Linked DNA regions of Homo sapiens: all the other regions are linked to region 3. Evidence: promoter capture Hi-C in 16 types of primary human blood cells and fetal thymus (Javierre and others, 2016). All regions are on one chromosome and are shown on one strand. The core of a region is centred on a gene start or on the middle of the fragment in contact, and the rest is flanking DNA. Distances in the headings are between cores, read along the strand shown. Region 1 overlaps PLEKHG1 (pleckstrin homology and RhoGEF domain containing G1). Region 2 has its middle 110 kb from the start of PLEKHG1. Region 3 holds the start of PLEKHG1 (pleckstrin homology and RhoGEF domain containing G1). Region 4 overlaps PLEKHG1 (pleckstrin homology and RhoGEF domain containing G1).

Region 1 (2,700 bases), core at 178-2,677, 100 kb before region 3:
TAGTACACACCCTAAACCATTATTTCTCCAGGTGTTACCTAACACCTCCTAAATTACTGCTATGGACTGAATTTTGTCCCCCCGCCCAAATACATATGTTGATGTTGAAGCCCTAACCCCCAAAGTGACTGTATTTGGAGACGAGCCCTTTAAGGAGGTGGAATTAAATGAGGTCATAAGGGTGGGGCTCTAGTCCAACAGGACTGGTGTCCCTATAGGAAGAGAAGGAAATACGAGAGATCTTGCTCTCTCTCTATGCAAAAGCCTATGTGAGAATACAGCCAGAAGGCAGCCGTCTGTAAGCCAGGAAGAAAGGCCTCACTGGACACCAACCCCACTAGCACCTTGATCTTGGACTTACAACCACCAGGACTATGAGAAAATAAATGTCTGTCATTTAAGCCACCAGTCTGTGTTATTGTTATGGCAGTCCAAGCTGGCTAACAATCATCATCAGCAAGATTTTCAACAAGCAACCAGATTGCTGGGCCCTGCCCAAGAGCACAACATCAGAATTTTCAGGGACAGGGCCCAGGAATGGGCAAAGGTACCTGAACTCTTTGGGTGATGTAAGGTTGAGAACCAGTGCTCCACGGAGAGCTCAAGGCTGCCTGCAGCCCCTTACTCCACCTGCCTCAGCCTTCCCCTAGTCCATCATCCCAATGAAAAACGCTTTGATGGGGTCAAGGATGACAGACTTCAAGGATTAGACTCTCCAAAGGAGAAATAAAGGATTGTGAATAGAACTAGGCAGGAATCATGCTGGGGTCCAGGGTGAGGTGTGTTATAGGAAAAGCCCCTTTTGTCTCTGAGTTCAGAGGGGGCTTGTTCAGAAGGGACAAGAGGGGCCCTTGAGACCTGTGTGAAATGCTGCCAAACTCCATGGGAAGAAGACCAGAGGAAGGTTTATGTCTGAAGCCCAAGGTTAATGAAGAGTGCGTTTATGCTGACTATTCCCTGCCCTCAGAGGACAGCACCAGCAAACATCGCCCCCCTCACTCCAAAGAACCAACTAAGATTCATTCTCAACATGCTAACAGGTCAGTCGGACCATCAACCATTGAGGATACTTTCAACTCCGAAACTCAGCACCGATAAAGTTGTTATTTGCAATTGTTGCACTTTGAATCTTTTTGTAAGTCCTGATCTTCACCAGAGTGAAAGGCTCTACTATGTCAAACTGAAAAGACTTAAAATTAGTTCCATTGTCAGGGATAATAATATATAAACAAATTCAAAGTCACCAAGTACGTTCAACTATGTAAAAATGCCACATGAAATTCTGCAAGTTTTCAAAAATCAAGGTGCTAAACAGCAATCAAACACTATTTTAAAACAGCATATTCACTGGAGGGCAAGACCAGAGTATTTTTTCCTGTGATTCATATGTATTGCCAGGGTAGAGAGACACTGCTGTGACACAAGAATGTTCCATGCTTCCAAATTAAGGTACAATTTAACAGAAAAGCAGAATATATTCTAGACTGATTTTTTTTAATACTGTAGGAAGTAGCTCTTCAAGTAGAAAAAAGTTGTTTTGTTTTTTTTTTTTTTAAGATGGAGTCTTGCTCTGTCGCCCAGGCAAGAGTGCAGTGGCGCAATCTTGGCTCACTGTAACCTCCACTTCCTGGATTCAAGCGATTCTCCTGCCTCAGCCTCACGAGTAGCTAGGATTACAGGCATGTGCCACCACGCCTGGCTAATTTTTGTATTTTTAGTAGAGATGGGGTTTCACCATGTTGGCCAGGCTGGTCTTTAACTCCTGAGCTCAAGCGATCTGCCTGCCTCAGTCTCCCAAAGTGCTGGGATTACAGGCCACCATGCCCAGCCAGACAAGAGCTTTTCTAACGGACTGAATAAAATTATATTTTAAGTATTAAGCAAGTCAGAATCTAAGAACCCTTGATGGGCAATCTGTACATCCTCATCTGCTTTCATTTTGATAAACTTACAAGAAGGAGTTAGGAAGGAGAGAAGTGGGAAGGGATTTCATGATTTTCTTTATTATGAGGCTAAAACCTGGGTCTGACTCCCCTGCCTCCCTGACAGCTTGTATCTCTCCAAGTACCTTGGCCATTTTTTCATCTAAAGGCCTAGGCAGATAAAGGGAGAATGATGGAGATGAAAACACAGGCCTTGCTGAGGTTTTTTGTTTTGTAGGAATAAAATGAGAAGCATTGGTACCACTCAGCTATGCCACTAAAGATGCAGAAGTGCGAGGCTGCTAGCCCACGGGAGGAAGTGGCTGCTTCCTCGTAAGGAATGAACGCAGCAGGTCATCAGCTACAGAGTGGGGGAACTTCAGGGTTCAGAACAGCCCTGAGGCAACAAGGAACAAGTCGGAAGTTGACCCATTATGGAGACTGCCAGGTTCTAGATAGATTTAGAAAGTCTGTTTGTTATTGGTGGTTATCTTCGGGGTTATTATTTCCCCAACAGCTTTTGCTTATGTTTTTTATTTATGACAAAATAAAATATAACTACATGTTAAGGGATTACACTAGGTGATTTAAATAACTGTTAGAAGGGTACAATTTGGGTACTGGATGACATATATATAAGTACACACACACACACACACACACACACACACACACCCCAAAACAAAATGAGAAGTACTGCTGATGGTGAGAGGTTCCCAATGCCCTTTATAACGTGATCCATACATCAGAACTTTTTTTTTTTGAGACGGAGTCTTGC
Region 2 (2,700 bases), core at 57-2,556, 110 kb after region 3:
TAGTACAGTATCCTATCATCATTAATGCTCCTGTAAGCTCCTTCCCTGTCACCTGGACTGCCTGACTTGGTAGCGCCTGCTATTTATGCCCCAGCCACTTAACTGCTTAGCAGTTTTCCTTACTGTAAAAGTACAAGAACCCACTTAGCACAGCCCAAACCTTCTTCATGGTGTGCAACAATCTCATGGCATCTCCTACAAGTTTCCTAGTTATCCCAAATTAGCCATTTATCCATAGACAGTGTCAGTTCTCAAGCTTTAATAAGAATCATTGGTAAGCGTGTTAAATACAGATTCCTGGGCAATCACTGTAAACACTGGATTTTGTAAGTCTGTGGTGGAGCACAGGAATCTGTGTTTTTCAACAGATCACTTAGGAGATTCTCATACAAGTGATCCAATGACTGCACTTGGAAATGACTGCACTGCTTTAAGAATAGTGTAAACCTTGGAGCCTATTAGACATGCAGAATCTGGGGCCTTACCTAGGACCTGCTGAATTAGAACCTACATTTTAACAAGATCTCCAGGCGACTCATGTGCCTGTTAAGTTTTGAGAAGCACGTTAATTTTGAAAGAACATCCTCATTGTCTGAAATAACCTGGAAGAGTAAGTAGAGTCTTTCAGTTCCAAAGGTGTTCAGTTCAGTTCTAAAGAATCGCACGGAAGAATCACACAGAAGAAATGCATGGACTACATATTTTAGTAAGAGTTTTATCATTGCTTTCAGGTTTTAATTCAGTTTTACAGTTCTTGTTGAGAAATACCGTATACTAAACCTCATTCTCCAATTTGGTTGCCTTCTCGAGGACATAAGGGTTTCTTGCTGAGCTCTTTTTATCCTCTGTTTTACACAATTATTTTGGGAGGTTGCTGGCTCACCAGGGAAATAATGTGCTATTTTCTATACAATATAATTTTCCTAACTCTACATTTTACATATCGGGTTCATGCCCTCACTAAATTCAAACATTTTATTTGTTTGCTTAAGGCAAGACATTGGGGTCATTCCCCAAACAAGTATCTCATCTGATGAAATCAGGAAGGTGCTTCTGGTGTCAAAGGGAAGTGTCTCATCTCCAGGGAGGGACTCCAACTTTTTGGCCGGGGGAGCAAGAACATCTGTTTCAGTCGTGATCCGTCCTGTTGGCTGAGCTGTCGGTGGGGGTGTTTGGGATGCAGCCCTGGACCTTCATCGGAAGACACTGCTGTGGTCATCAAAGGATATTTGCCATGGAATCCAGGACACACCCATAGGGAATAAATACACAGTTATGAAAAAATGATTACCAATAAAATAGTGACCTAGAAAGGCCCACAAGCTGGCTCAGGCCCTGGCTTTTTCTCCCCTCTTCTATTTTTACTCATTGGAAATAGACAAGAACATTTCAGAAAGAACATCCTCACTGTCTGAAATAATCTGGAAGAATAAGTACAGCAGTTCAGTTCCAAAGGCATTGTGGATACTCCATGTGTATTTTCATCAGCTGGTAACAATTTCTTAAAAACAAGACTTGATATGTGGCATTTTGCTCCTCAAGTCCATTTTAAATTATCTGTCCTCTCACCTAACAGGTTATAGGGAACACCCAGGAGGCCATAGGTATGAGGAGAGGCAGAGGCTACAGTAGCTCAGAGATCAGCCACGTGGAGTTCTGAGGCACTGTATTAGTCTGTTTTCATGCTTCTGATAGAGACATACCCAAGACTGGGCAATTTACAAAAGAAAGTGGTTTATTGGACTTACAGTTCTACATGGTTGGGGAGGCCTCACAATCATGGTGGAAGGCAAGGAGGAGCAAGTCACATCTTACATGGATGGTGGCAGGTGAAAAGAGAGCTTGTGCAGGGGATCTCCCATTTTTAAAACCATCAGATCTCGTGAGACCCATTCACTGTCATGGGAACAGTAGGGGAAAGAAGATGATTGAATCATCTTCTACTGGGTCCCTCCCACAACACATGGGAATTATGGGAGCTACAAGATGAGATTTGGGTGGGGACACAGAACCATACCGTATTAGGCACCTTCTCATGTAGCTTACTTGAGGAGATTCCCTCTCCCCTCTACACACACACCTTCTCCAACCTGATCCCAAATGAAGCCTTTCCATAGCACCATCTATTGCAACTGGTCTGAGACCTTATGAATCGGTGGACCTAACATGCCCAGCTCATGGTCAGGGACTCCTCTTTCCTGGGACCCTTCTCGTTCCCACTGAAATTTATGTATCCAGTTTGAATCTATTTTCTAAACAATATAGCCATTGACCTTTTCTCTTAGGAAAATAACAATTAAAAACACAAAAATCTGCTCAGGCCGAATATAGCCTTCAGGAAATACCCTTAAGCTTTAACCAGTGCACAGCCAGTCACTTGGTGCTTGCTGTAAAGGAATTTATAATGGGAAAACAATGTTCCCCAGGAAACTGGTTTACTTTCAGACACGTTATTAGACAAAGGGAGTAAAGGAGAGTCAGGGAAGTGAGCCAAGAAACCTGTGGGGCCGAGGGCTGCATGGCTGAGTCACTATGTGGGCCTGGTGTGCCAGTCCAGCAAGAGTGGTGCGATTCTCTCACATCTGTGTCTGTCCCGAGCCAGAGACCTGACCTCCAGCAGACATCCTTAGAAGGGCGCCAGTCCAGTCTTCTCATTTCACAGAGGAGGAAGGTAAATTTCGAATCTCAGGGGACTTGCAG
Region 3 (2,919 bases), core at 267-2,766:
TTTATAAGGGAGGCAGCCAAGACGACCAGAGGCAAGTATCTTGCCCAGGGTCCCACAGGGCAAAATTAAAGTTCGAAAATTTTCTGATCTCCTGAAATGATGGGCTTGGAAATGTTTTTAACAGCAATTTAATCAAAATCCAAAATCTCTACATTTTTTAGAAGTATGCTGTCTACAGAATCTGAGAATCCAGAAGATGCCGGTTTTAACACCTGGTTGTTATTGTACCGCATTACAGGACCTACCCAAGCCCGGAATTCTGTTAGATGACAAACTGGACCCTAGAGTTAACATTCTAGTCTTTCCCCCGGTCTAAATACAAAACACAATATAGTTCTGTATCCAATCTGTTCAAAACTCCTAAACCAACTCTCAGTCTGAGATGGTCCTCGCGGGGTGATACCTGCCCCAAACACCCACACTCGGTGATTTCGAAAATACGTGCAGTAGCCTCGGCCACCTGCGGGTGGTACAAAGGGCGCCTTGAGGACCAGAGCTGGATGAAACGCCGGCTTACAAACCCCGCTCCGCCAGCACATTCAAGTCAAGGATCCAGCTCATTGTTTCCGAGGAGCGGAATGAATTGACCAGCCGAGCGCCGTTCTCCCAGTTAGAGCGTTCCCAAGCTTCCGGCTTCGGAACGGGGCTCACCGCGAGGACACAAAAGGGGCGAGCTCGGGCATCACTGCGGTTCCCCGCCGCCCGCCGAGGCCAGAACGCTCGCAGAGTCGCGGCCGCCCAGGTGTTACCGTTTACCCCGTGACGGAAGAGCCACAGGCTCTTGACTCCCCACCCCCTGAAAAGCGCATCTGCAGAACGGGGGCGCCCCCAAGCCCTGAGCGCCGCAGCAGCTCGGCCGCCGCCCCCACCGCGCGTCCCCGGGTCCTCGGGCTCCCGGCTTCGCTGCTGGGGAGCTGACCCAGCTGACTGGCTGTGGGGTCCCGTTCTGGGGCTGTCCTGCTGAGTCGGGGGTGGGGAAGCGGTGGCTACAACTCCCGGGTGCTCGCAGAAACTCCTCTGCGCGCTGATGTTGCAGCCGCTGGGGCGAGGGGCGGGAGCACCGGGAACTTGGGGGCGCGGAACCCCAAGCGGGGCGGCGGCGGGCAGCATCCCCGACCCGACTCCGACCCCCGAGACGCGGCGCCCCCCAGCGCCCTCCGTCCCCACCGCGCGGTGCCCCCGGCGCCCTCTGTCCCCACCGCTCGGCGCCCCCCAAGGCCCTCCGTCCCCACTGCGGAGGGGCGCGCAGGGGGCCGGCGGGGCCCGGGTACCACGCTCCGCCCGGCCCCACCTGCGGATGTGGGGCTCCCGCCGGAGGTCCCCGGGTCCCCCCTCCCATCCCTGGAAAAGTCCCCAGGGCGTCCGGGCCCGACCGGCGCTTACCCGGGGAGGGACGGCTTCGCATGCCCGGGCGGCGCTCGCAGGTCGGGCGGGGAGGGTGCGGGCTGCGCTGCGCCGGCTCGGGCTGCCGGAGCGCCCTGCAGCCGCCGTCGGGCTCGGGCTCGGGCTCAGGCTCGGGCTCCGACTTCCTCTTCCTCGGGCTCGGCCCCACTGCTCGGCCGCGCCCCGGCCCGCCCCTCCCCGCGCCCAGACGCCAGCTTCGGCGGCCGGAGCAGTGGATCGCTCGTCCCGCCTCCCCTCTGCCCTGAGGGTGAAAAAGGTGGAGAGGAGGGGGGCGAAGAGAAAGAGAAATTAGGCACTTGGCCTTGTCTCTGGAGCCTTGCCAAAGAGAACAGTCAAATTACAGCTTCGGGGGGAATAAAGTTTTTTTTTTTTTTAATTCTGCTACTGTTTTCGCAGACACATCACTTTTTTTCATTTTCCTAGCTCTTCAGGTTTAGCTTTCCTTTGGACGTAATAATTTCCTATGTGAGTCCTTTAAAATAATACCCAAAATCATGGTTTTAGTGAACATTCTAGTTTTACATAGAAGCTTTGCCGGTAATCAAGTGAAAAGAGGGGGAAGCCCGGTGTTCTTCAGGCGTCATTACCCTAATCACCTCGGTTAAAGCACCAAACGACCTTTGCCTAGAGAAAGTAAAAGTGGAAACGGAGGTAAAGAATAACCGGTGACAGCCAGAGAGATGTTTAAAGGCACCGGCTCTGCAGTAAAGTTATGACTCCAATCAAAGGTGCCTGCAGCGACAGTTAAAGGCATGTGAAGTCATTTCTTAACACTAATCTCCCGCCAAAGTCGGACGTATCAGGGTCGCCTGTGGACCCCCTTAGGTTTGGTGGTGGATTTGATTGCACTCTTAGTTGTTAACAGACCTTCAGCCTTACCACTTGCTAGCTGTGTGGCCTTGAGAGAACGCTTTAACCTCTCTGTGTTCTGTCTGTTTCCTCATCTGTAAAATGGAGATGATGATGATGATGATGATGATAGTGCCTACCTCATAGAGTTGCTGTATGTGATTTAAATAAGAGAATGTGCGTGAAGGGCTTAGGAGACTGTCTGGCACATGCTCTACAGCCTGAATAAATGTTAGCTATTCTTGTTGATTTTTGCCTTTTATCTGCTTTTATGCATATACATGATTATGGAAATTATCATAAAGACTGGGAACAAAACAAGGTTTGTGCAGTAAGGCTACACAGCATCACAGTTCTCTACCACGTGGAGTTTATGTTCTGTTTTATAATTTGAGTCTCCACAACTGACTTGTATTACCTAAAACTATGGGACTGGGTTATGCTTGGAATACATTTACCACGGTAGATTTGCAATGGGACTAAAACAGACATTTGCCATCTTCAAAGCATTGTTTCAGTTGGCCTTGCGATAACCTTGTGAGGTTGACAGGACAGGTGCTAGTCGCCTTTCACAGACAGGAAACTGAGCTTAATTAAGACCCTGCCCAGCTTCTGGAGCTCACACAAAATCATGCCTGTTACCCCATCTCTCTATGTTGTGATTTG
Region 4 (2,940 bases), core at 182-2,681, 68 kb before region 3:
ACTGAAGCCTTATGGGTTCAAGCTGATGCAATTATAAGGGAGTTAGACATCAAACTAGGTCAGAGAATGACCTCGGTAGGCAATCAAAAACCATCTCAGAAGCCTCTTCAACCCCCCATCTATCCAGGCAAAAGTCATCTTTTCTCCTCACTCCTACTCATTCTGTACAGCAAAAACACATCCCAGCTATCTACAGTGATGTGTCTTCAAGGCTTTCTCCCCTCTCTATTTGAGGGCTAGATCTAAGTCAGGAGCCTCCTTTTGTCTTTCCTGAACCCACAGTGGGGCTGTGCAAATGTTTGAGTTAAAAAATGAACATCAGTGTTTACAGGGATCTTATTTTAGGCTTTCCTCAGAACTAAGTAGGGGAGAAACAAAGAAAAGCCTGCAAAAAAAGGCCCTAGTTAAACTGTTTAAAAATAAATCCAGATTAACAATGGCATGGAGTCATCACTGCAATAAAATGCAAAGATGACGGCCAGATACTTGAGCTACATTGCTCACAATAATTCAGCTGCCATTTTATTTATATTTAAGGTCAAATAAGACAAATCTTGTTTTGTATTACTTTGTACAAAGCAGGGGGACTAGAGAGAATTTTACATTTCATATCATCAGAAGACTAAAATATTTTTCCAGAAACAAATCAAAATTTAAATAAGTGAAACATGAAATTTTTAACCTTTACCATACTCTGCCCTACAAATAATCAACTTATTTTCAGTGATTACACATAAAGCATTCCGGTTTTAAAGTCCTTTGTGCTAGAGTTTCAGGTCCGGCCTGATTAGGAACACTGCGCCCAGCTGAGTGGAATGTGGAACTCCTACTTGGTCATCGGCCAGCAAGACTCCATGGCAACCACTATGTTTCGACAGATCAAAGGAGAGTTGAGCACTCAGGAATTGTCTCAGACTACCCAATAATAGACACTACATTTAATATGAGTACACTTTCTCAAATGGACCATTAAATTTTATTGTAGAAGAACTCAAAATATCATGTACAAAAATTCCAGAAACTTACAAAGGGAACTGTTGGCTCTCCAAGAAAACCATCATTCCTTTTTTTGGAACTGGACTACAGGGAGTTGAAAAATCTTTGAGGGAGCCATAAAGAATCCAATCACTTTTTACTTTGTTTAGATGGTGTTCTAGCTGTTGAAGGCTCCCATGATAATTTTGTGTTCTGTTTTTAGCAGAAGTTACAGGTAGGGCAGCCAATGCTTTATGTCTGCTTTTGGCAAGCACAAGCAACAGTGAGTTTCTCACTTCAGGCTATGTGTGGGCACATGAAACCTTCACTAATTCAAAGAAAGCTTTCACAGCCAACAGCAACCAGTTTAGAAAAACAGCAATGAGACTTTCGGCATCAATCTTCACTTTCATATTCCTGGAAAGACCTATTGCACGTATTTTAGCCGCCCTTGTATACAAGATAATCTTCAAACCTTCTGCTCTGAATTCTTTTTTATACACACATCTTACAAAAAGACAAGAGGCCTTGAACATTTTAATACCTGCTGATGGGCTGGAAAAGCTTTTAAAGGAATAAGTAGCACTCTACCACAAGAAGACAGTATTTTTACTTGTGACTGCTGATGGATTCACTATCCCTTGTAGTTCTAAAGGAGAGTCACCTCTACTTTTCACAGTTTCATTTATTTGCAGACTTCTGAATTCAGCTTTTCTAAAAGTTCTCTAGCAGCATAGAGGGTGTGTGAGGAAAACCGGGTAATATTATTTCCTAGGCAATTTTAATGCAAATTCAATGCAGGAAAATATTCCTGCTTGAATTAATAAAACATTGTTTAGCCAAATCTGTTGCAAATAGGAAAAAGTAGACTGCTATAAATAAAAGTAATAAACCACAGGAGGCTGTCCTTGGATTCTGTACTTCAGACTACTATTTTCCAAGATACCTTATGATCCTAAATTGTAACAAACAGAAGTATGTTCTGCCTTGAACCCCATTTTAGTGTCATATTAAGACAACATAATGCTGTTTAGTACATATATGTTGAAAACACAAGACTTGGCTGAACAGATAATAGAAACAGCCTTTTCAGAGTCAATCCTTAGTCAAAGGCTAAGTATTCACAAAATCATATGTAGAAACTCTTTTTAAAAAAATTATGTCCGCAGCAATATAATATTTAAAAAGACTGGTGAGCAAACATTTTAGGGATGCTAAAAACTTGAAATATTAGTAGTTAGCTAACTAAAGGTGATGCAGACCCAACCCTAATATATGTTTAGACAGGCCCAGTTTTCATGCTATATGATTTAAATAGCTTGGCATCCCTAAGCATTGTACACACACACACAAACACACACACACCCCCTTTTGGAGAAAATTTAAAAATCTTATCAGGCTGGGCGCAGTGGCTCACGCCTGTAATCCCAGCACTTTGGGAGGCCGAGTTGGGTGGATCACGAGGTCAGGAGATCGAGACCATCCTGGCTAACGCGGTGAAACTCCATATACTAAAATATAAAAAAATTAGCCGGGTGTGGTGGTGGGCACCTGTAGTCCCAGCTACTTGGGAGGCTGAGGCAGGAGAATGGTGTGAACCCGGGAGGCGGAGATTGCAGTGAGCCGAGATTGCGCCACTGCACTCCAGCCTGGGCGACAGAGTGAGACTCCATCTCAAAAAAAAAAAAAAAATTATCAATGCAGCTGGTATGATGGCAACTGTATGAAGCTAGAAGGCAAGATATCTTGATTCCAGCTCAGTCTCTGACATGAACTTGCTGTGCACGTTTGATGGTATTGCCAGCTCTCTCCAGACTGCAATTTTCTCATCAATAACATGAGATACTTAGGAGTAGGTCTTTTCTGTGTCTGCAATGAACACCTAGGTACTGCAGAGGTGAGCAAAGGGAGTGGTAGAGACACTGGGCTCATTGGTTATCTGATCCTGCCCCAAGCAGAGAAGAT

Evidence for each region. The method cuts DNA at HindIII sites, captures the fragments that hold promoters and counts their contacts. A CHiCAGO score of 5 or more calls a contact.
Region 1: a fragment that was not itself captured here is called in contact with the fragment with the promoter of PLEKHG1 in region 3 in 3 of 17 cell types (total B cells, naive B cells and fetal thymus); the score reaches 16.4 in total B cells.
Region 2: a contact is called between a fragment that was not itself captured here and the fragment with the promoter of PLEKHG1 in region 3, in 1 of 17 cell types (endothelial precursors). The highest score is 9.4, in endothelial precursors.
Region 4: a fragment that was not itself captured here is called in contact with the fragment with the promoter of PLEKHG1 in region 3 in 1 of 17 cell types (total B cells); the score reaches 5.1 in total B cells.

What each region holds. Positions count from the first base shown.
Region 1 is chr6:150,702,455-150,705,154 of GRCh38, reverse strand. All of the region lies in intron 2 of PLEKHG1 (pleckstrin homology and RhoGEF domain containing G1), which reads right to left. Among named protein-coding and RNA genes, the nearest start is that of PLEKHG1, 100 kb to the right of the region's middle. The HindIII fragment of the contact is 3,822 bases long and covers 1-2,700 here.
Region 2 is chr6:150,492,944-150,495,643 of GRCh38, reverse strand. No RefSeq gene overlaps it. Among named protein-coding and RNA genes, the nearest start is that of PLEKHG1, 110 kb to the left of the region's middle. The HindIII fragment of the contact is 2,096 bases long and covers 259-2,354 here.
Region 3 is chr6:150,598,482-150,601,400 of GRCh38, reverse strand. It overlaps PLEKHG1 (pleckstrin homology and RhoGEF domain containing G1), which reads right to left and starts at 1,516. Exons shown (of 17, transcript NM_001029884.3): 1 at 1,384-1,516. RefSeq lists silencers at 839-1,008, 1,219-1,698, 1,494-1,788, 1,969-2,028. The HindIII fragment of the contact is 1,307 bases long and covers 629-1,935 here.
Region 4 is chr6:150,666,490-150,669,429 of GRCh38, reverse strand. All of the region lies in intron 2 of PLEKHG1 (pleckstrin homology and RhoGEF domain containing G1), which reads right to left. Among named protein-coding and RNA genes, the nearest start is that of PLEKHG1, 68 kb to the right of the region's middle. The HindIII fragment of the contact is 221 bases long and covers 1,321-1,541 here.